Regions from separate parts of the Homo sapiens genome. Here regions 1, 2, 3, 5, 6 and 7 are each linked to region 4. Evidence: promoter capture Hi-C in 16 types of primary human blood cells and fetal thymus (Javierre and others, 2016). All regions are on one chromosome and are shown on one strand. The core of a region is centred on a gene start or on the middle of the fragment in contact, and the rest is flanking DNA. Distances in the headings are between cores, read along the strand shown.

Region 1 (3,366 bases), core at 447-2,946, 860 kb before region 4:
GGAGAACATAGTAGAGGAAGCTGAAAACTCAGAAGGAAGAGAAGATAACCAAAGGGAAGAGAATGGGTTCCAGTTATAATATGAAAGAAGGAAGAAGAACATGGTTACAAACATGGATAATAGTTATAATTAGTAAAGGGAACATGAGAAAGAATCACATAAATCATAGAGATATACAGTCATCAGGTTGGCAGCAAGAGTGTATCAAATCAGCCTGCTCTGATGCCCTCAGTTCTCTTTTCCTGAGTTTTTGAAGATGAAAAAAGCCAGAAACAGAGAAATGAACTTCCCAAGTCCCAGGATCAACTGTCCCATGACTTATGACCTAAAGATCCCTTGTTCTGTCCTCATCAACAATCTGTCAACTGGGAGCAGTGGCTCACACCTGTAATCCCAGCACATGGGGAGGCTGAGGCAGGAGGAGTGCTTGAGCTCACAAGTTCAAGACCAGTCTGGCCAACATGGTGAAACCCCCTTCTCTACAAATGATACAAAAATTAGTTGGGTGTGGTGGTGCCTGCCTATAGTCCCAGCAACTTGGGAGGCAGAGAGGTCACAGTGAGCTGAGATTCCACCACTGCACTCCAGCCTGGGCAATAGAGCCAGATCTTGCCAAAAAAATAAAAAATAAAAATAAAACCCACAAAAGAAACAACAATGTGTCCCTCATTGCTTTGAATATTTTCTGCTGACTAAATATCAGTATCCTTGCCTGCCAACATTTGATCTTTTGGACACCAAAGAGTGCTGTCAGCCTGTGTTGTGAACCATTCAACTTGGCTTTTCATTCTGAAGGACTGGCCATTTGACATCTCATCTCCACCCTGACGCCGATGCAGCAGTATTTCTGCAAGTGTATTAGGCCATCATCACTTACTGCTCAGCAGCAGACAAGCAAAAATGTTGCATGTAACTCATCTAAAGTGTCTTTGAAGGCATGTTTGCGTGAGATTTTTAATTGTTTCACATAGATCAGGATTTCTCAACCTTGGTACTATTGACATATTTGGTTGGATAATTGATTGTCATGCAGGGCTGTCGTGAGCATTTTGGGATGTTTAGCAGCATCGTTGGTCTCTACTAACTAGATGCCAGTAATACTCCACTGCCACTCCCAGTAGAGACTACCAAAAATGTCCCCAGACATTGCCAAATGTCCTTCGGAAGGCAAAATCACTCTCAGTTGAGAACCACTGATATAGACTGATGCCATAACATCAAAATGGAAACCAGAAAAAAAAAAAATCGGTCAAACCCCTAAAATCTTTTCTAGTATCAGAATGTCTGTTTCTTGTGTAGGCAAATGCCTGGCTATTTGACTGAGTTTTTCAGTTTCCAAATGAATACTCGATATCTTCATCAACAAAAAACATTTGAATGAACATGTCTTTTAGACATCATCTCAACTTGATTTTTAATTCTTGAACCAATCAGCAAGATTTAACATGTCAGAATTTGACATAATTGAGAACATTTTAAAGCTTTCTAGGTCCAAATGTATTCCCCGCCTGACTAACTGGTGGATTTTGGCCCTTGTTTTATTCCTGTGTTAATCATTTTCAGTTGTGTTTTATTTTTGCTTTTTGTCATCAGCTGCTTTAATCCTCTTCTGGAGGAAGTCAGAGGATAAATATGAACACAGGCATTTTTTTTCCATTGTGTATGGAGAGTTCTTTTTTTGTGAGAGCATTTTACCTCCTTTCCTACGGCCCAGCTACTTGGTCCCATTGAGCCTTGAGCAATCTCACAATGACTTGATATAGAAAGCATTACCTTTTTACTAATAAAGCATCTTCTGTGTTCCATTATTACTATTCAGAGTTGTTAGAGGTAAGGAGTGATGCTCAGTGAGAAACTATTAGAAGTAATTTGTTCTAGTACCAGCTCTGTCAGTTACTGGCAAAAAGCTTGCATTTCTAGGTGTCAGTTTCTTTACATTCAAATTCAATTAACACTTATTGAGAGAAACGTGCTTTGCCAGGACAATACTTGATAGTTACTCAAAGGCTGTTTTGTAGTAGGATGTGGCTGCTCTGTATGGCAACAACTTTTGAAAATCAAGAGGTTCTCAGTTTCTTGCTTTCATAAATAATCGAGTAAGAATCAGCCATGAATTGTGTTAATCTTTCTTGAATCACGGCTTTTCCCATTGAGAAAATAAATGTATAAGTTTAATCTCTCTTGTGTGAAATATAAATTCTGCAATAACTAACTCTAGTTGGTAATATACATATATACGTGATGAAATGTTTAGGAATGAAGTGTACTGCTGTCTGCAACTATGTTGCCCAGGCTGGTCTCAGAATTCCCGAGCTCAAGTGATCCTCCTGCTTCAGCCTCTCAAAGCGCTAGAATTACAAGCATGAGCCACCATGGCTGGCATTAATGGCTTTCTTAAGGTGCAGCAATCAGAATTATTCCAAATGCTCTGAGTCTCAAAGTTTTGTTGTTTTCTGGAGATGAGGTCTCACTATGTTGCCCAAACTGGCTTCAAACTTCTGGACTCCAGCAATCCTCCTGCCTCAGCCTTCCAAGTAGCTAGGACTACAGGTGGAAATCTCAAACTTTTGTTTGAGGGTAATAGGAAGATATTTTTTGATTTGTTTCCTGTAGTCTCTGTATAATGCTGAACCAGGCTAACTGCTTTTCAAGGAATCCTTTCCCTATATAGGTTAATGGCATATTCATATGCTGATTATTCAAATTAAAACCTCCAAAACTTCTTTAACTCCCTCCTTTCCTGCACACCCAAATACAATTAATCTCAAGAACTATCAACTTTACCTTTTAAACATTTTGAAAATTCTTCCACCCTCTCTATTATCATTGTCTTTGTTCAAACCTATCTTTGAAGTCTTCTTTTGGTATTTGGTATTTTTCTTTCTCTGATCTGTCGTCCTTATTGCCTTCAGAAATTTTTTTCCAGAATGCAAATGTATTCATGTCATCCCTCTACTTGACAAACTACAATAATAGTTAAGAATTATTATTAATTATTTTGCATGTCTGAATGACGTTGTGAACTTTTTAAGAGAACTTATCTTTTAGAAACACATACTAAAATATTTACGGATGGAATGATGAAATATCTGGGATTTACTTCAAAGCTAATATGGGAAGGGGAGAACATCGGTAGGGATATATAAATTAAATAAGAATGACCATGAATTGAAAATTGTTAAAGTTAGATAATAAATGGGGGTTAATTATCATTTATTTTGTCTATTTTTATATATGGTTGAAATTTGCCATATATAAATCGGTTCTCAAAAATACCGACATGCTTCAGAAGGGCAAACACTACTGTTAACCACCCAGAACCACCTTATCTTTGCTCCTTTTCTCCCGTCCCTCTTCCAACATGTA
Region 2 (2,913 bases), core at 322-2,821, 780 kb before region 4:
ATAGCATGCATGTTTTACAAACTGCACTTTTTTGGCCTTGACAAACACCATCCAGTTTACCCAAAGTTCATAAAAGGTTAATGTTTTCTACTTTTGAAATGCACATATACTGTTCTCTGTGTGCTAATGATGTGGCCTCTTAACCAGGGTTTGATTTTTCTGTGCCCATCCACCAATTTGCTCAAAGTCATGGTCTCAGGCAGTGACGTCATTCCTTGACACTAAAAACAAACACCATCCAGATCTCTGTTTACTTTCTCCTGCAGGTTTATGTCCATCGAAGCAGTGCCGATGGGAAAGTGCACAGAGACCACAGGGTTTTGCTTGTACCCAGTGGTTTAAGCAGCTGGTTCCCAGGGACTGGCCCAGACCAAAACAAAACAAAACAAAAAAATAAATTCCAGAGAATGCTATGCAAACTACATAAAATTCTGAAGAATGTGAAGATGAAGGCACACAGTTGGCATCCAGTATAAGGTCAATATCTATATTTAGTCTACATCTATATCTATATTTACTTATTTACTGAAATATAAGGCTTGCCAATTTTACAAGGAAATTCTGGGGGAAAAAAAATCAAAGTAGTTTTCTTCCCACTTGTTTTAAACATTGTTTTTTGTTTTTTGAGGCGGAGTCTCACTCTGTCGCCCAGGCTGGAGCGCAGTGGTGCGATCTCTGCTCACTGCAAGCTCCGCCACCCAGGTTCACGCCATTCTCCTGCCTCAGCCTCCTGAGTAGCTGCGACTACAGGTGCCTGCCACCACACCCAGCTAATTTTTTGTATTTTTAGTAGAGATGGAGTTTCACGGTATTAGCTAGGATGGTCTCGATCTCCTGACCTCGTGATCCACCCACCTCTGCCTTTAAACAGTTTTTTAAGTGATTCTACAGATACAGGTGTCCAGATGAAAACCACTGGTTATGGTTATGTAGCAATGTTCCACTAATTCTACAAATAAATAATATCATGTGGTTAAAAATAAATATTTCGGTCGGGTGTGGTGGCTCACACCTGTAACCCTAGCACTTTGGGAGGTTGAGGCGGGTGGATCACCTGAGGTCAGGAGTTGGAGACCAGCCTGGCCAACATGGCAAAACCCTGTCTCTACTAAAATAACAAAAATTAGCTGGACGTGGTGGCGCACACCTGTAATCCCAGCTACTTGGGATACTGAGGCAGGAGAATCGCTTGAACCCGGGAGGTGGAGGTTGCAGTGAGCCGAGATTGCACCAATGCACTCCAGCCTGGGTGACAGAGTGAGACTCTGAAAAAGAAAGGGAATGGAAGGGAAGGGAAGGGAGAGAGGGACAGAGGGAGAGAGGGAGAGAGGGAGAGAGGGAGAGAAGGAGATAAGGAGAGAGAGAAAGATTTCAGTATCTGTGACTTTTGGCACTGAGTAGACTATAAAACAAAATGAATTTATTGGTAAATGAAATCCTATATCCTACATAGAATACTATAGAGATATCAATACAATCTTCCAACAAATAATGGAAAGCAAAAGTAAATAACTTGAAATAAATTTGAATAAACTTTCATAAACACTAATAGAAATGAACTAGCAAAACGGTATATGAACAATATTCTTTTTTTTTTTTTTTTTTTTTTGAGGTGGAGTTTTGCTCTTGTCACCCAGGCTGAAGTGCAATGGCATGATCTCGGCTCCATGCAACCTTCGCCTCCCAGGTTCAAGCAATTCTTCTGCCTCAGCCTCCCTAGTAGCTGGGATTACAGGCCCCCGCCACCATACCTGGCTAATTTTTGTATTTTTGGTAGAGGTGGGGTTTCACCATGTTGGGCAGGCTGGCCAGGCTGGTCTTGAACTCCCAACTTCAGGTGATCCACCCACCTCGGCCTCCCAAAGTGCTGGGATTACAGGCGTGAGCCACTGCACCTGGCCAACAATTTTCTATACAATAGCCAAAGTACCTGAAACCAAAGGCGTCAGTAAAAACTTGGGACAAAGCATCCAGCAAGAAAACAATGTGAAGGATGCCTATTTCAAGCTAATACACACAGTAAAAGTAAATATTTTACTATTAGTGTATGATAAACACAGAAAAGTTAATGGATTCTAATACAATTGGACTCTTACACTACAGCAGTGCTTCCATTGGCTCACTGGACAACATCCACTTGCTATACTCTGCCACTAGAGAATCTCACTATTGCTATTGTCTGCCTGTTTTCTACTTCTCCCTCCCTCATCCCCTCTCCAGGTTGTTGAGCGTTTTGTCTTCAATGTAGGCACATTGCATGTGGTGTGGGGTGGCTAAGCTGCCAGAATAAATGAAATAACTTTGCTCTTCCTATATGCTAGGATACTGCATTTGTCTGTCCAGTGTCTCTGAACTGAATGCTTCCTAGGCTAACTCCACTGGAAATATGTTTAACTCATGGTTTTAATTTTGCACCAAGGTATGCACTTGGAGTTACATACTGCTTAAGATAAATCAATTTATAATTTCCGGTAGTTGGCTAACTTAATTTCCTGGCTAAATGGGGAATAATAAAATATCTTATTATCTCAATAAATCAATGAAAATTTTTGCTAATCCTGAGAGGCCTGGGTTTCTGGGATGACCCACTGGGTAGTGCTGTCAAGCAGAGGCCAGTTCAGGCATGTTTCAAAGGCAGAGGTTTATTCTTGAGTTATAATTGGTTTCTGTGGGTAACAAAGGCAAAAGGAATTTTTTCTTTAGCTGCAAAAAAAAAAAAAAAAAACCCTCAATAAAGCTCAACACTTACATTCACATTAAGCCCATTAGCAAATTAGGGATGAAAGGAACATTCTTTACCCTAGAAAAGGTATACATAAAAACATTTAAGCATGCATTATATTTAATAGAGCAACAGTAAAAGGATTTTCTTTAAAATCAGTATACCTGCTATCATCACTCTGTAATTCAATA
Region 3 (3,291 bases), core at 474-2,973, 800 kb before region 4:
ATTCTTCAATTATTTTGGTTCTGTCAGTGGAGGAAAATACGGTTTTTAAAATTGAAGTCCCTTAAAAAGTTTTCAATATATAAAATATAGAGAAAACCTAAGCAAAAGTTCTCAAAGAAAACGCAAAAAAGAGTCTGCATATTATTGCTTAACTGAGATGAATGCACTTATGTATCTGAGCCTGTATGTCCCATAGGTATTTTTAATAATAGCTTATCTTTATCCCCAAAGTGCAGAAGCTCTAGATAATGACCAAATTGTGGGCTATGAACTGTGTTCCTTTGACTTGAATTGTTGCATCATACTAATGAAAATAAGTCAAAACTGCTAGAATAACCACTCAAAAGAACACAGGTTAAGGATGGCTCTCTAAATCACAGCAGGAATAATGAAAAGGTGGTTGAAAGTTAGGAAGGACTTCTCCATCTTAAAAATAAAATATAAGAGTTACCAACTCTTTGAAAGAGCTAGAAGACTTAGTGGGATAGAAAAAAAGCTTTTCCATTAATTTAATTGAAGTTGATTTGTGTTCATCAGTAGTTTATTTAGACTGATTCTCAGCAAACATAATGTTAAAGTTACCTTGCAAATTAGAAAACTCTTGGCACAAATAAAACAGTGCACAATATCTCCCAAGAGAAGCCCAGCCTTGGTAAAGTTCAGTTGGAAAATCTAAACCAGACTACCTTCCCTGCACTAGACTTTGGTTTCTGTTGGTATTCTGTCACTCTGCCATGCACCTAAAATAAAACAGCATGAGTTTTTGTGTAACAACAACAACAAAAAAGACAACTTGAGACTCGCCGATAATAAAATCTAGAGCTAGTTCAGTTTTGTTGAAGCTAAAATCTGATGTCATAATAACTAAAGGAAATTCTAATTGGTGTTATGGTAAAAGTTTTCCTACTAATTCTGAAACACAGACTCTCATTTTGCTGTTTCTGCTAGTTGTATATTCCTTTGGGAAATGCCTTTGGACTCAGCGCTAAGGTTGTTTGTGAAGCTTTGGAGGCAAAGAAGAAGCAAAACCATCACTGGAAGTAAAATACACAGGAAACAAAACAGACCGTGGTAGAGACAGCTCATGGCACCCATCTGAAGGCAAAAGGAACTACCATGGGCGCCGACAGCACGCGCACCTAAATATTAGCTGATTGTGTGCAGTATTTGTAAGGAAGGAAGGAAGAAACGAGGGGAGAGAGCAGGGCAATGGAACTGATTTATCCAACAACAATTAAACTTTTCATTTTGGCAGTCACTGTAGTCGAGTAAAAAGCCAAGCAGTAGGTTGGTTACTGAATTAATAGTCTATACAGGTTCCTTACTTATACAATAGATTAGTTCGAACTCACAATGGGGTCAATATACTCCATACTCCCCTGAAACACATAATTATGCAATTGAGTTTATATTAAGACTGGCAAGGTGAACACAACCATCAGCTTTATAATTCTAACAAATTGTAGGGTGCAAATTCACACTGGTTAGATGAAGCAAGTTAAAAACAACTGAGTATTCAGAATGACCAAGAAAATCTCTCTTCGTTGCTGCCACTGAAGAAGCCAGCTGCCTATGAAGAAGACCACTTGGTAAAGAACTGAGGGTAGCTTCCCTCCAACAGCCACCAAGAAACTGAAGCCCTTTAGTTTGACAGCCTGCAAGGAACTGAACGTTGCCAATAACCACATGAGCTTGGAAGCACATCATTCCCCAGTCGAGCCTCAGATGACCAAAGTTCCAGCTAATACCTTCTTGCAGCCTTTTAAGACCATGAGGCAGTGACCCAGCTAATCCATGTCTGGCTAAGCCAGCTATAGGAGAGGAGCTCCTATCAAGATGATTTGCAGTCTTATGTAAGGTAATCATGTACATGTGATCCTGGACACTCAAGTCACCTTTGCTGCATTCAGCTGGCTAGAAGCAAGTCACAAGTCCTTCCTGTGATCAGGTGAGGGATCAAGGCTGTGACTACCAAGAGTGGGATTGTGAGGGCCCCCTGTTTTCTGTCTGACACAATGGATGACTGACCTAGAAAGAAGAAAGTAGACATACAGACCATCCTGGCTAACACAGTGGAACCCCATCTCTACTAAAAATACAAAAAATTAGCTGGGCATGGTGATGGGCACCTGTAGTCCCAGCTACCTGGGAGGCTGAGGCAGGAGAATGGTGTGAACCCGGGAGGCGGAGCTTGCAGTGAGCTGAGATCGCGCCACTGCACTCCAGCCTGAGCGACAGAGTGAGACTCCGTCTCAAAAAAACAAGCAAACAAACAAAAAAGAAAGTAGACATCATACACCAGGTGGTTAATATAGGACAGTTAGGGACAGTGCTACCCAAAGGTAAAATAGACAAAACAACTTAAGTTTTCTTCTTTCAAACCAGTGGGAAGTGCACTGCCTTGAGAAAGATCAGGGCATCTCTCTACCGTTACACAAGCTTGAGCAACTCAGGGACCTAAATGTCCTCATGCTCTATCTTTGAGGTCCTTTCAGTGCTAAGCTTCTGTGACCTCAGACCTTCCTTTCCAAGCCTCTCAAGACATTTTGGAATGCCACAAATTCTGGCTGTATTCATACAAAGTGCTGTGATAACCAGTGTGTCACTGTTGACATCTTTATAGAACAATACTGAGGAGAAAGAAAACATTTAATAGATCAGTCCTCTAGAGAAGTTAAAAGTCAAATCCATTACGGTGTTACCCTCTGATCCAATTTTTGATTTTCCATTTGTTTATATTTCTAAAGCATGATGTCATATAAAAAATACACAAGACAAAACCACTATAAACTTCACTTTTTACAGGCAAATTTGGGGCTAAAAATTATGTTCTATGTGGGGAGCAAACTACATTTCACATCCAAGTAATATTGAGTACATCAAGAAGTTACTTTGGCAGTGTAAACTCACATCCTCAGGATTAGAAAGGGCTTTCAAAGTCATCTTTTTAGCCACCTATCTGACAGGCAAATATCTTCCAGAACATGAAGAACAAATTATCTTATTATTTCTAAGTAGAAACTGATAGACTGTCATTATACTTCCTTGTGATGTCATAAACGTAAATGACTCTGTTAAAAATAAAATTATGAATTTAATCTACATAAGGCGAATCCAAACGCTTGCTCAATATATCAGTGAGCTCTTTCTTCAGGCAAAACATTAAGTTCTAAAGTATATGGAATTTTAAACATATATTCACAGTTATTCTTCTGTGGACAGACTACACAATGACATTATAAATATTCTCTAATACCTCATTAAGAACACAGATTAAAAGCTGTAAATCAG
Region 4 (3,312 bases), core at 280-2,779:
CCTTTAGTCCCAGCTACTCGGGAGGCTGAGGCAGGAGAATGGCGTGAACCCGGGAGGTGGAGCTTGCAGTGAGCCGAGATCGCGCCACTGCACTCCAGCCTAGGCGACAGAGCGAGACTCTGTCTCAAAAAAATAAAAAAAATAAATCATTGCCGCCTAGGCCGTGCATGGTGGCTCATGGCTGTAATCCCAGCACTTTGGGAGGCCGAGGCGGGTGGATCACCTGAGGTCAGGAGTTCCAGACCAGCCTGACCAACATGATGAAAGCCGTCTCTACTAAAAACACAAAATTAGCCGGGCATGGTGGTGCATGCCTGTAGTCCCAGCTACTTTGGAGGCTGAAGCAGGAGAATCGCTTGAACCGGGGAAGCGGAGGTTGCAGTGAGCCGAGATGGCACCAGTGCACTCCAGCCAGAGCAACAAGAGGGAGACTCCATCCCCCCAAAAAAACAACTTTGCTGCCTCATTTTAGCTCCTCTGCTTACCAACAGTGTGACCTTAAATAAATTACTTAACCAGACCCGGGCGCGGTGGCTCAGGCCTGTAATCCCAGCACTTTGGGAGGCTGAGGCAGGCGAATCATCTGAGGTCAGGAGTTCCAGACCAGCTAGGCCAACATGGTGAAACCTCGACTCTACTAAAAATACAAAATTAGCCGGGCGTGGTGGCGCATGCCTGTAATCCCAGCTACCCTGGAGGCTGAGGCAGGAGAATCACTTGAACCCGGGAGGCGGAGGTTGCAGCGAGCCGAGATCGCGCCATTGCACTCCAGCCTGGGCAAAAAGCAAAACTCCGTCTCAATAAATAAATAAATAAATAAATAAATAAATAAATAAATAGATAAAATAAAATTACTTAACCCAACTGTATTTACAGATCTTCACCGCAAAATGGGATTAAAAATTGAATCTACCTTAAGTATCTACTATAAGCATTAAATGACTGAGTACATGTTAAGGGCTTAGAAAAATAACTGACATTGCCATTGTCATTATTACTGAACCTGGGCGGTAAGAAGTTTTGCGCAAAGAAAGTGAGGACCACGCCCACCATGTCAAAGACTAAACGACCCAAAGCCTCAAGGAATCAGCTAGACTGTGTTAGGGAAAAATGAAGGGAGGGATGAGAATCAGTCGCTGCCATCCCTTTTCCTCACAGTTCCCACGATAGCCTAAGGCCCGGTAGGTGCGCCTCTCACCTGAACCGACGACCCCCTCCTGTTTCCATTGCTGCCGCTCAGCCTCAGTGGGGAATCCCCTCAGAATTGCCAGCTCCGGGGTCCACATCACCCCAGACACCGCTGCAGCCAAAACAGGCTCCCACGAGGGCCACACGGGAGTCAACAAAAGAAAGTGAAAACAGGAGAGTCCAAAGGCGCTGAAATCTAGTGGCGACAGTTACCGTAAATACACCTGCGGCCCTAGAATTCCATGTGCGGATACTACCTCAAGGAGGCGGCCATAACAGCAGCGCGGGGCACCCTGGGAAAAACACGCACGCTCTCTGGTCTGGCTTCCGCCTAGGAGAAGAACCCGAGCTTGAGTAAGGAGCCTGTTGGGTGGTTATGCCCCACCCCGGGGCGGGCAATAGGGGGAGTTGAGGGCGCGGTCGCGCTCAGCCCCGCCCCCAGTGGGACCGCTTCCAAGAACTGTGAACGTGGAAGTGAGTGTGCCTCCCACCGAGGGCTAGGGTTCAAATGCAACTCAAAACGGACGTCTTGGCCAAAGCAGTTTGATTAGAAGGGCTAGAGTTGTGATTCTTAAAGCATTTTGGGTTAGAACGCTCTCGACAACCCGATGAAAACCACAGTCCTTCGCGCAGAGTGCAGGTGGGCCCTTGCTCTCAGCCTAAGGGTACCCTCTCAGGGAATCACAGACCCTCTGACGTGGAGTCGGTGAAGCCCAGGTTGGAACCCCGTCAGCATAGCATGGGTCTTTCGGCGAATGAGCGTGTAAGGAAAGGATCTGGTTTTGACACTGCTCTACATGAATCATGGCCGGGTGGGAAATCTGCCCCTGCCGCTGGTGCAGGGAAGTTTTTGGAACACTGTCGGAACGCTGTAGAAGAGTGATCCCAGGGGTGATCACAAAGAAATTGCAAGGAGACAAACCAGCCTCCGCTGGTACCTTATTTGCACTTCTTTGAATCTTCCTAGCAGCACTCCAAAGAAACAGTTAGAGGGCGGGCGCGGTAGCTCACGCCTGTAATCTCAGCACTTTGGGAGGATGAAGCGGATGGATCACCTGAGGTCAGGAGTTCGAGACCAGCCTGGCCAATATGGTGAAACCCGTCTCTACTAAAAATACAAAAATTAGCCGGACGTAGTGGGGCACCCCTGTAAACCCAGCTACTCGGGACGGTGAGGCGGGGGAATTGCTTGAACCCGGGAGGCGGAGGTTTCAGTGAGCTGAGATGGTGCCACTGCACTCCAGCCTGGGCAATAGGAAAGAGGGAGGGAGGGAGGGAAGAAGGAAGGAAGGGAGGGAGGGAGGGAAGGAGGGAAGGAAAACAGGACTATGGCTTTGTCCCATTGGCTTGACACCTGTACTGAGATATGTCATGTAAGAGCCAGGAGAAAACTGCAGGGTAACTCTGACCACAAGAGCAAAAGCTCTCTGAAAAGAGGCTGACCCGGTACCCAGCTCCAAGGAAGAAGCTAAATAAATGTTAATTCACTTTCTTACTCAGTAAAGAGCCACTCCAGAATGTGAAGGGAGAGGAACTCAGCTCAGCTCATTTCAGCCATTGCCATCAGATACCAAAGGAAGCCGGACCTGACTGTGATTGGAGAAGAGCGGATGCCCTAAAATGTCCTCCCACTGAGAAGTAATTAAAAACTGTTTTTCAGGCCGGGCGCAGTGGCTCACGCCTGTAATCTCAGCACTTTGGGAGGCCGAGGCGGGCGGATCATGAGGTCAGGAGATGGAGACCATCCTGCCTAACAAGGTGAAACCCCATCTCTACTAAAAATATTTTTTTAAAAAATTAGCCGGGCGTAGTGGCGGGCGCCTGTAGTCCCAGCTGCTCAGGAGGCTGCCGCAGGAGAATGGCCTGAACCCAGGAGGCGGAGGTCGCAGTGAGCCAAGATCGCGCCACTGCACTCCAGCCTGGGCAGCAGAGCGAGACTCCGTCTCAAAAAAATAAACAAACAAAAAAAACCCCACTATTTTTCTAGAAAATGATACTTGACCAGGTTGTCTGTTCATTTCCTTAAGTATAAAAGCCAGCACTGTCTAAACTAATTTGATAATTGTTAAAGATGAACGTCTGTAAAAACACACTGGCCGCTCTGCCAAAGTTCCTCACCTGTAT
Region 5 (3,332 bases), core at 747-3,246, 820 kb before region 4:
GGGCAAAAACCCTTTGATCTCTTCTTAATGGGGTTTCAAAAGGAAACAAAGGTAGATAATGTGTGTGTTAAGCCCGTCTTCAGCTGGAAGCTCAAAATCTTTATAATACACTCATTGCTTTTTATAATATTCTTAATCCATTTTGATGTCTCTGGCCCTTGGGGCCCAAATACTGCCATGCCTACCCCAGACCCTCTACCTTGGTCACATCTTTCCAGTCTTATGCTCTATATTTAAAACCATCCCTCCTCCCATAAAAATTCTCCTTTCCTTAGTTACAGGGTTACATCAAACAGAGAAAAGTATAGATGCATTGATGTGTCATATCAAAGTAACAGGAATTGACTCACTCCTCTCTGGACTATGTATGGCTTTTTAAAAAATAACTTTACTTAAAAAGTAGAAGAAGAAGACAGTGAAAATACAGCCATTTCAATCCACAGAGACAACTTCAAAAGAAACCAAACCTGCTGACACCTTGATCTTGAACTTGACATCAGTGTTAAATCAAAGTAACAAGAATTGACTCACTCCTCTCTGGACTATGTATGGCTTTTAAAAAAATAACTTTTACTTAAAAGAAGAAGATGACTGTGAAAAACACAGCCATCTCAATCCACAGAGACAACTTCAAGAGAAACCAAACCTGCTGACACCTTGATTTTGAGCTTCAGCCTCCAGGATAGTGAAAAATAAATTTCTCTTGTTTAACCCAAAAAAACCCCCACTTTTATTGATTTGTATGTGTGTAATTTCAAAAATCATATATGTTTATCATAAAAAACTTTTAAAGTATAGAAAAGTACAAAGGAGAAAAATAAGATCAATTTTAATTACATCTTTTATAACATTATTTTGGCATATACATGTGATAATCTGCAGATGGCCTCCCAAGATCCTTACATATCCTCATGTAGTCCTTGCTCATGCTGAATCAGGACTGACCCTGAGTGACCAATAGGATACATGAAAAGTGATGACGTATGACTTCCAAGGCAAGGTCATAAAAAACCTTGCATCTTTCATCTTGGTTTCTTGAATCTCTCACTCTGAAAGAAGCCAGTCAGATGCCACCTTATAAGGGTATCCAATAAGACCCATGGAGAAGTCCACGAAGAAAGGAACTGAAGTCTCAGCTAACAGCCAGCACCAACATGCCAGCCATATAAGTGAGCCACCTCAAAAGCAGACCTCAGCAAGATGGTGCAATAGTATTTTCCAGCACATATCCCCTTACAGAAACACCAATTTGAACAACTATCCATGCATGAATGTACCTTCTCAAGAACTAAAGAATCCCAGTTGAGATCAAAAACCCTTTGATCTCATCTTAATGGGGTTTCAAAAGGAAACAAAGGTAGATAATGTGTGTGTTAAGCCCGTCTTCAGCTGGAAGCTCAAAATCTTTATAATACACTCATTGCTTTTTAAAATATTCTTAATCCATTTTGATGTCTCTGGCCCTTGGGGCACAAATACTGCCATGCCTACCCCAGTACAGAAATAAGAAAAGGCACATTGAAGAGGGCGAGAAAGAGTGTCATATTACTGATATCATCCCTCCCCCAAGGGGTGCACAGCACAGAGAAAGATACCTTCCCTGTGGGGGAAGGAGAGTGAACTGAACACCCTACTTTGCTATGGACCACAGCATCGGGCCCACTTCAGTGAAATCCAGTGCCAGAGCAGCCCTCATGATCCCAGGCTCTAGGCTAGCACCTGTGGATAAGGGCATCCAGGGCTACCCTAATGCTGGGCCAGCCCCTATGGCCCCAGGCTGCAAGCAGGCCTCTATAGCATCAGGCTGCAGCTCCATTCAAGCACCACACCAATACAACAGCACTAGGCTCTACACCCAGAGGCATGTCTGCCACAGCAGCTCAACCTCTAGGCCAACCCCTGCAGACACAGGCTTTAGGCAAGTCCCAGTAACCAGGCTAGCCCTTGTGTGGACTCAGGCTCCAGGCCCATCCTAGAACAAAGTGGGCCTCTATGAACTCAGGCTCAAGGTCCATCTCATGGACAGGATGGCCCCCATGAACCTAGACTTCAGGCCAGCCCCTGCAAACACAGGGTCCAGATTCACTCCCATGAACCCAGAATCGAGGCCCACCCCAGGAGATGCAAGCTCCAGGCCTTCCTGCCTGCTGACTCAGGCACCAAGGCAACTTGCCTGAGAATACAGGAGCAAGTCTGCCCTCAGATTCCACCAAACAACCCACCCAGAATCTCTAGATAGACTGGTGAGAGCTTTCCAAAGCCAATATGTAAAAGGTAGAACAGGTGCTTACTTCTTCATATGCATAGACATCAATATATAGCCACAAAGATAGTGAATAATAAGGGAAACACCACCACCAAACAACAAAATTAAGTAACTGACCCTAAATAAATGGAGATCTATGAACTGCCTGTCAGAGAATTCAAAATAATCATCTTAACAGAGCTCAGTGAGCTATAAGAGAATACAGATAACTAAATCAAATCATGAAAACAATATGAAAGCAAAATAGGGGATTCGATGAGGGTATAGAAACCATAAAAAAGAACAAGGCAGAAATTCTGGATCTAAAGAACATAGTGATGGAACTGAAAATTCCATAGAGAGCTTCAACAGTAGCCTCAATCAAGCAGAAAAAAGAATCAGTGAGCTCAAAGACAGATCATTTGAAATATTCAGCCAGAGAAACAACAACAACAACAAAGAAGAAGTAAGAATGAAAAAAGCCTATAGGATTTATGAAACAATATCAAGCAATCCAATATATACATTAGGGGATTCACAAAAGTAGCAAAGAAAGAAAAAAGAGCAGAATGCTTAGGTAAAGAAATAATGATAAGAAACTTCCCAAATCTGGAGAGGCAAATGAGCATCCAGATCTATGAAGCCCAAATAGCCCCAAGCAGATTAAATACAGAGATCTTCACCAAGACACATTACAATCAAATTCTCAAAAGACAAAGAAAAAACTTTGAAAGCAGCAGTAAATGAAATCGAACCCTTACGTTACATACAAAAATGAACTCAAAATAGATTAAAACTTAAACTCAAAATAGATTAAAAACTTAAACTTAACACCTGAAAACTATAAAACTACTACAAGAAAAGATAGGGGAATATCTTCTTGTCATTGGTCTCGGCAATGATTTCTTAGATATGACTCCAAAAGCACAGGCAACAAAAGTAAACACAGAGAGTTGAGATTGCATCAGACAAAAATGCTTCTGCACAGCAAATAATCAACAGACTGTAGAGACAGCCTGTGGGATGGTAGAAAATATTTGAAAACTATGTATTATATCTGATAAGGGACCAATATCCAAAATATGTA
Region 6 (3,310 bases), core at 237-2,736, 840 kb before region 4:
AGGCTACCAAAAAAAAATTGTAAGTAATTTCTTTCCAAAAGAAATTGGCCATATTCTGTGATCACACTGTAATAAAACTATACATTAATTACAAAAGTGTAAGTCAAAAAGACCCCACGCTCTTGGGGAAACTTTAGAGTTCTTAAAAAAAAAAATCATTGATTGGAGAATAAATTAAAAACACAATTACAGAATGAATGCTTAGAAGGTTTCAGTGATGAGAATACCACATATCAAATATTGGGAGACATAGCCAAAATAATAATTAGAAGCAAACTGACCCAGGAAGAAGTCAAAAAACAACAGATCAGTAACCATGGAAAAATGTAAAAGTTAATAAGGAATTATTTCCAAAAAAAGCTCTTAGTTCAGATTACTTACACAATCAAGTTCTAACTGAGCTTCAAGCAGAATTAACTCCCATGGTATATGAAGTGTTCAAGTGGACAAAAGTAACAGAAAGCTAACATAATACCCTGTCTTAAAAAAAAAAACTGATAAAGCATAATAAAGAAAACCACAGACTAACTTCATACGTAAACATAGGTTGCCCTAAAGATGTAAAAAATAAGGCTGGGAATAGTGGCTCACCCCTGTAACCCCAGTGCTTTGGGAGGCCAAGGTGGCAGGATCACCTGAAGCCAGGAGTTTGAGATCAGCAGGGGCAACATAGCGAGACTCCATCTCTACAAAAAAAAAAAAAAAAAAAAATAGCCCAGTGTGATGGCAGATGCCTATAGTCCTACCAACCTGGGAGGATGAGGCAGGAGGATCACTTGAGCCTAGGGGATCAAAGCTGCAGTAAGGTATGATCACACCACTGCACTCCAGACTGGGCAACAGAGAAAAACTTTTGGATTGCCACAATAATCTTGAAAAATCATTTGATAAAATTCAATATCAATTTTTTAATTAATAAAACAAAATTAAAAGACTGATTCTTAACATGATACTCATGTTAATTCAAATCTCAAATCAAACATAGGCATCATACTTAATGGTAAAATACTGGAAGTATTAATGTTAAAATCAGAAACAAGAAAAGCATGCTCATTATCACTACCATCCATTTAACACTGTTCTAGACATTTGAGCCACTGCAACCAGGCAAGAAAAAGAAACTAAAGAAGAATTTTATGAGAAAAATGGAGACAAAAGTATTCAACCTGCAGATTGAGTAATATTCATTTTCTCAATAGAACAAACTAAAATTTGCTTCTAAATAATTAAAAAGTGAGGTGAACAGTTACAAATAAATATACAAAATAAGTATACAAAATTAATTGTTCTGGCCACGGAACAATTATACAGAAATATATGAAATTTTCCATATAACCCACAAAAACTTAGAAAACATAATAGAAAATAATTCTTGGCCGGGCGTGGTGGCTCACACCCATAATCCCAGCACTTTGGGAGGCCGAGGAGGGTGGATCACAAGGTCAGGAGATCGAGACTATCCTGGCTAACACGGTGAAACCCTGTCTCTACTAAAAATACAAAAAATTAGCCGGGCATGGTGGCGGGCGCCTGTAGTCCCAGCTACTCGGGAGGCTGAGGCAGGAAAATGGCGTGAACCCGTCAGGCGGAGCTTGCAGTGAGCTGAGATCGCGCCACTGCACTCCAGCCTGGGCAACAGAGTGAGACTCCATCTCAAAAAAAAAAAAAAAAATTCTTAGTTATAGTATTATTTATAATAGCAACAACAACAATAACATTTCTAGGAATAAAAAAAGTGAATAACCTATTTAAAAATGTAACTTTACTGAGAAAATTAAAAACAGTTTGATACATTTCTGTATTGGAAAGTTTTTCTGTACTGGAAAACTTAACATTGTAAATATATTAATTCTCCCTCAAATTAATTTATAAATATAATCAAATTTTGCTTAAAATCCCAAATAAATTTTTCAAACAGGTCAAAAATCCTCAAGTTTATTTTAAAGAATAAAAAACTGAGAATGGTAAAGAAAATTTTAGAAAAGAACCACAAGGGAGATATTAGGTACTAAATAGGCTAAAAATAACGTGAATTTAAAGTTTGGTACTAGTGCCAAAAGAACTAGAGCAATGGAACAGAGCCAAAAGCCCAGAAATACACATAGAAGAACTACAGTAAAATGTTTATTGTATTTGTTCAATATGGTTTTTAAACCCAGTGGGAAAAGAATAAACTATTCAAAAACAGGTTAAATCATTAACTATTCGGAAAAATTAAGATGCAATCATTACTTCATGCCATACACAAAGTAAAAGCATGTTAGACTAAAGAGTTAAACATAAAAACGCTGTACAGCAGCACGGTGGCTCATGCCTGTAAACCCAGCACTTTGGGAGGCCGAGGTGGGCAGATCATCTAAGGTCAGGAGTTTGAGACCAGCCTGGGCAACATGGTGAAACCCCTTCTCTACCAAAAATATAAAAAATTAGCTGGGCATGGTGGCCCATATCTGTAGTCTCAGCTACTAGGGAGGCTGAGGCAGGAGAATCACTTGAGCCCAGGAGGTGGAGGTTGCAGTGAGTCAAGATCGCGCCACTGCACTCAGCCTGGGTAACAGAATGAGACTCCATGTCAAAAAAAAAAAAAAAATCACATACAAACTTGAAGAGAATCACATGATTGGTTTTATAATCTTAAAATTGTTTTAATCATGATTAAATACTTTTGTCCTGAAAACGTTTCAATCACAGTCACAACAGAAGGAGCTATAAAGATAAAAGTTCACGATTTAAACCATAAAATATAAAACATATATGTAAAATATAATCCAACGGTAATCAAAATTAACCTACAAATAATAAAATGAGATTCAAAAGTGAAATACGTATGGTAAAGGGTTAATGGTCTTAACATATAAATAGCATTTACAATTAACAACTGGATATTAATAAATAGTTCACAAGGGAAGAAACATAAATGACCAATCTACACATGAAAAAGTCAGCTTCCCTAAAAAAGGAGTATACATTAAACAACGATAAGATACAATTTATTATCTATAAACTTGACAAAGATGAAAAAACGAAAATTCTCAGTGTTGGCAGGAGGTTTGGAAAATGGCACCTTCATACTCTACCAGAAAGAATATAAATCGTACAACATAGGAGGAAGATAATTTTGTAATGTATGTCAAAAGCTTTTTAAAATGTGAATACCCTTTAACTCAGCAGTTCCTGTTCTAGAAATATATCCTAAGAAAAGAATATGGATTGCATATGTATAAGGATATTTCACGCAGCATTACTTATACTAAGAAAATATTAGAAAAACATCTAGGTGCCAAAAGTAGTTGAATAAATTAGAACATAT
Region 7 (3,187 bases), core at 454-2,953, 750 kb before region 4:
TAACAAAGATATACCACTATCCATTAACATTATTGGAAGAGCAAGTTCTAATCAATGTAATATGAAAATAACACTAAACATAGTCAATGACTAGTCATGAAAATGTATTTCATTCAATAACAGGAAGTAAGACATCACTGCAAAGTAAAAGATGGACTATCTTGAAATCCTGATTCTGTTTTATGATTTCTTTGTATTCTGCCATTTACTTCAATCTGAGATGACCCTCCTCTTTCCTTCCCCTCTGGATCTGTTCACTATCAGATACAGTCCTAGCAACTTCTGCCTCTGGCAGTGATTTCTTTGGAAGGGGCTCACAGATTACCACATGAATGCATTAAAAGTAATGGCAGGGCCGGGCACGGTGGCTCATGCCTATGAATCCCAGCACTTTGGGAGGCCGAGGTGGGTGGATCACAACGTCAGGAGATTGAGACCATCCTGGCTAACAAGGTAAAACCCTCTCTCTAATAAAAATACAAAAAATTAGCTGGGCATGGTGGCAGGCACCTGTAGTCCCAGCTCCTCAGGAGGCTGAGGCAGGAGAATTGCTTGAACCTGGGAGGCGGAGCTTGCAGTGAGCCAAGATTGCACCACTGCACTCCAGCCTGGGCAACAGAATGAGACTCTGTCTTGGAAAAAGAAAAAAAAAAAAAAAAAAAAAAAGCAATGGCAAAAACTGAAATTACTTTTGCACCAACCTAGTATTTTCTTGAAATGAGCAGTGTACAATCAGCACAACTGCTCAAAACAGCTCAGCCTGCCACTGAGACTTGAAGCCCAGAAGGAAGCATAAAGAAGGCTTTGTTGTGTCAGAAGCCCTCCCAATGAGCTAATGTTTTGTAATCTGCTTCTTTCTTAAGGTAGTGGCTACTGATGCTTAGCAGAACAATTACTTTCTAGCTTCTGCTCCCTGCAGATTTGTAAATACAAGAACCTGGTCATTCTAAGAACTTTCTAGATGTTTTTCTCCCAATCATAAGGGGCACAATCTGTCTGCGGCATAAAAGGAGAATAAAATTTACTTCATCCCTCCTCTGCCCGGCTTGCCTGCTCTGGCCATGAGGTCACTGTTTAACAGACATGGGCAGTCAGCAGCTTTGTTCTAGCCATAGTTGTATTATTAGGTTCGTTAAGAAGAGGTCAAAAGAAATTCAAACGTTAGTTGAATTCAAAACCTCAAACTTAGAACAGTGCTTAAGCAATTATGCACAGTGATTTTCTCAAAGTCAGACTCATCACAGTTCATGCTTCTTAGAGTATGCTTCAACTAGCCCTATTTTCAAAAGGAAAAAAAGAAGAGCAAATTTTATTTAAAAGATGTGAAAGTATGCTGGGCGTGGTGACTCACGCCTGTAATCCTAGCACTTTGGGAGGCTGAGGCGGGTGGATTGCCTGAGCTCAGGAGTTTGAAACCAGCCTGGGCAACATGGTGAAACCCCATTTCTACTAAAATAATAATAAAAAATATTAGCCAGGTGTGGTGGTGTGAGCCTGTAGTCCCAGCTACTCGGGAGGCTGTGGCAGGTGAATCGCTTGAACCCAGGAGGCAGAAGTTTCAGTGAGCCGAGATCGTGCCAGTGCACTCCAGCCTGGGCAACAGAGCGAGACTCTGTCTCCAAAACAAACAAACAAACAAAACACACACACACACACACACACACACACACACACACATATATATATATATGAAAGTAAAATGTTCACTAGACCAAATCATTTAGTATCATACTGAATGGGCGATTCTAGAAAACGGAATGCCTATTCATAATCTCTGATTTCACAGGAGAAAGGTAAAACTGCTAAGACTTTTACTTTTGAGATAAATATGATTGCTTGTTGATATGGTTTGACTTTGTGTCCCCACCCAAATCTCATCTTGAATTGTAATCCCGACCTGGTGGGAGGTGACTGGATCATGGGGCAGTTTCCCCCACGCTGTTCTCATGATAGTGAGGGAGTTCTCAGGAGAGTTGATGGTTTCAAGTGTGGCACTTCCTCGCTCTTTCTCTCCTTCTGTCCTGTCGCCAGGTAAGAAGTGTCTGGCTTTGCCTTCTGCCACAATTATAAGTCTCCTGAGGCCTCCCCAGCCATGAAGAACTGTTCTTTATAAATTACCCATCTCAGGTAGTATCTTTATAGCAGTGTAAAAACAGACTGATACACTTGTTAACTAAAAATAAGTGTTGCTTTTTAGGATCAGATTGTTTACATGCATGCCTGAATTTCTCTCCTTTCGCTCAAACTAGAAAGATTTTAATAGGACATCAGTAAGATTATTATCATAATGAAATTTATTTTCTATTCAGAGTATTTTTTATAACAGAGAGTGGCCAAATACTTTCCCTAGCACTTCCATGCAGTATAGCTCTTAGGAAAAGTGCCATGAATACAACTGACACTCCAAGGCTCAAGCTGTACAAGAAGTAAAATTTCAGAAGTGCTCATGTCACCAACGAGTAACCCATTAATCAAACTTCTCTCGCCTTGAACTGTTCTCTAATGGCTGGTGAGGACACTGAGGCAGTAGCTTCAATCAGCTTTCAAAACAGAGAGTTCATGCTACAGTGCAGTCTAGCAAGGTCCACTGGTCCTCCCTGGTCGGCGTTCCAAATACTTGCTGACTCACCCGCAATCCAGGGATTTGGGGTTTGGGAATGGCAGCTTGTTCCAGGACACTCCTCCAGAGCTCTGTCTTCAGCAGTTTAGCAAGAAATGAAGGAGTAAGTTTTCCCCTCTATCAGGGTTTTTAAAAATTTTATTTTAACTATTCTCACCTTGCGGCAAACCATGTTTGCTTTTCTTCTGCTTTCAATGACTACAATAGGATCATAACTGGAATGTGGCTTCCTTGCCCATTGCTTTCTTTCCTTCCAATGCACCTGCCCAAACATGGTTATTTTTTAAAAACACACAATTTAGCATCTAGTATTTTTCCTCTTATGTACGTACTGTCCCTGCTTTTTGTACCTGGCTTCTCTGCCATTCATTCCTGCTTATTTGGCCCCTTTCACAAATCCAGTACCTCTTCCCCAGTTTAGTAAAGGAGGCCCTGACCATCCATAAAAGCCCCATCCTGCTGGCAGCTATTGATCTACTAGGGAATCTCAGTGGGGTGAGGATATCCCCTTAGGAGAAGGTATCTGATTCCTACGGGAGGGCATGTATAGTTGGATAAAAGGTCCTA

What was found. Contacts are between HindIII fragments. The CHiCAGO score rates a contact against its expected background, and 5 or more counts as called.
Region 1: a contact is called between a fragment that was not itself captured here and the fragment with the promoter of TTC27 in region 4, in 1 of 17 cell types (total B cells). The highest score is 8.4, in total B cells.
Region 2: a fragment that was not itself captured here is called in contact with the fragment with the promoter of TTC27 in region 4 in 3 of 17 cell types (M2 macrophages, M0 macrophages and M1 macrophages); the score reaches 8.4 in M2 macrophages.
Region 3: a fragment that was not itself captured here is called in contact with the fragment with the promoter of TTC27 in region 4 in 3 of 17 cell types (M0 macrophages, M2 macrophages and M1 macrophages); the score reaches 8.7 in M0 macrophages.
Region 5: a fragment that was not itself captured here is called in contact with the fragment with the promoter of TTC27 in region 4 in 4 of 17 cell types (M1 macrophages, M0 macrophages, M2 macrophages and 1 more); the score reaches 8.1 in M1 macrophages.
Region 6: a contact is called between a fragment that was not itself captured here and the fragment with the promoter of TTC27 in region 4, in 2 of 17 cell types (naive B cells and M2 macrophages). The highest score is 7.0, in naive B cells.
Region 7: a fragment that was not itself captured here is called in contact with the fragment with the promoter of TTC27 in region 4 in 5 of 17 cell types (M2 macrophages, M1 macrophages, erythroblasts and 2 more); the score reaches 16.9 in M2 macrophages.

Annotation. Positions count from the first base shown.
Region 1 is chr2:33,486,834-33,490,199 of GRCh38, reverse strand. All of the region lies in intron 1 of RASGRP3 (RAS guanyl releasing protein 3), which reads right to left. Among named protein-coding and RNA genes, the nearest start is that of RASGRP3, 12 kb to the right of the region's middle. RefSeq lists an enhancer at 1,551-1,600. The HindIII fragment of the contact is 426 bases long and covers 1,484-1,909 here.
Region 2 is chr2:33,409,319-33,412,231 of GRCh38, reverse strand. No RefSeq gene overlaps it. Among named protein-coding and RNA genes, the nearest start is that of MIR4430, 7.7 kb to the left of the region's middle. The HindIII fragment of the contact is 4,741 bases long and covers 1-2,913 here.
Region 3 is chr2:33,430,462-33,433,752 of GRCh38, reverse strand. No RefSeq gene overlaps it. Among named protein-coding and RNA genes, the nearest start is that of MIR4430, 14 kb to the right of the region's middle. The HindIII fragment of the contact is 1,436 bases long and covers 1,006-2,441 here.
Region 4 is chr2:32,626,267-32,629,578 of GRCh38, reverse strand. It overlaps TTC27 (tetratricopeptide repeat domain 27), which reads right to left and starts at 1,529. Exons shown (of 20, transcript NM_017735.5): 1 at 1,199-1,529. The coding sequence starts at 1,286. LOC124905985 (a long non-coding RNA gene) reads left to right here and starts at 2,801. Exons shown (of 3, transcript XR_007086273.1): 1 at 2,801-2,946. RefSeq lists a silencer at 1,040-1,169 and enhancers at 1,420-1,479, 1,008-1,667, 1,890-1,949, 1,668-2,329. The HindIII fragment of the contact is 6,273 bases long and covers 1-3,312 here.
Region 5 is chr2:33,451,290-33,454,621 of GRCh38, reverse strand. It overlaps a transcript of RASGRP3 not described here. Among named protein-coding and RNA genes, the nearest start is that of RASGRP3, 24 kb to the left of the region's middle. The HindIII fragment of the contact is 5,053 bases long and covers 1-3,332 here.
Region 6 is chr2:33,468,743-33,472,052 of GRCh38, reverse strand. It overlaps a transcript of RASGRP3 not described here. Among named protein-coding and RNA genes, the nearest start is that of RASGRP3, 6.3 kb to the left of the region's middle. The HindIII fragment of the contact is 3,306 bases long and covers 1-3,139 here.
Region 7 is chr2:33,376,676-33,379,862 of GRCh38, reverse strand. All of the region lies in intron 31 of LTBP1 (latent transforming growth factor beta binding protein 1), which reads right to left. Among named protein-coding and RNA genes, the nearest start is that of MIR4430, 40 kb to the left of the region's middle. The HindIII fragment of the contact is 3,551 bases long and covers 1-3,187 here.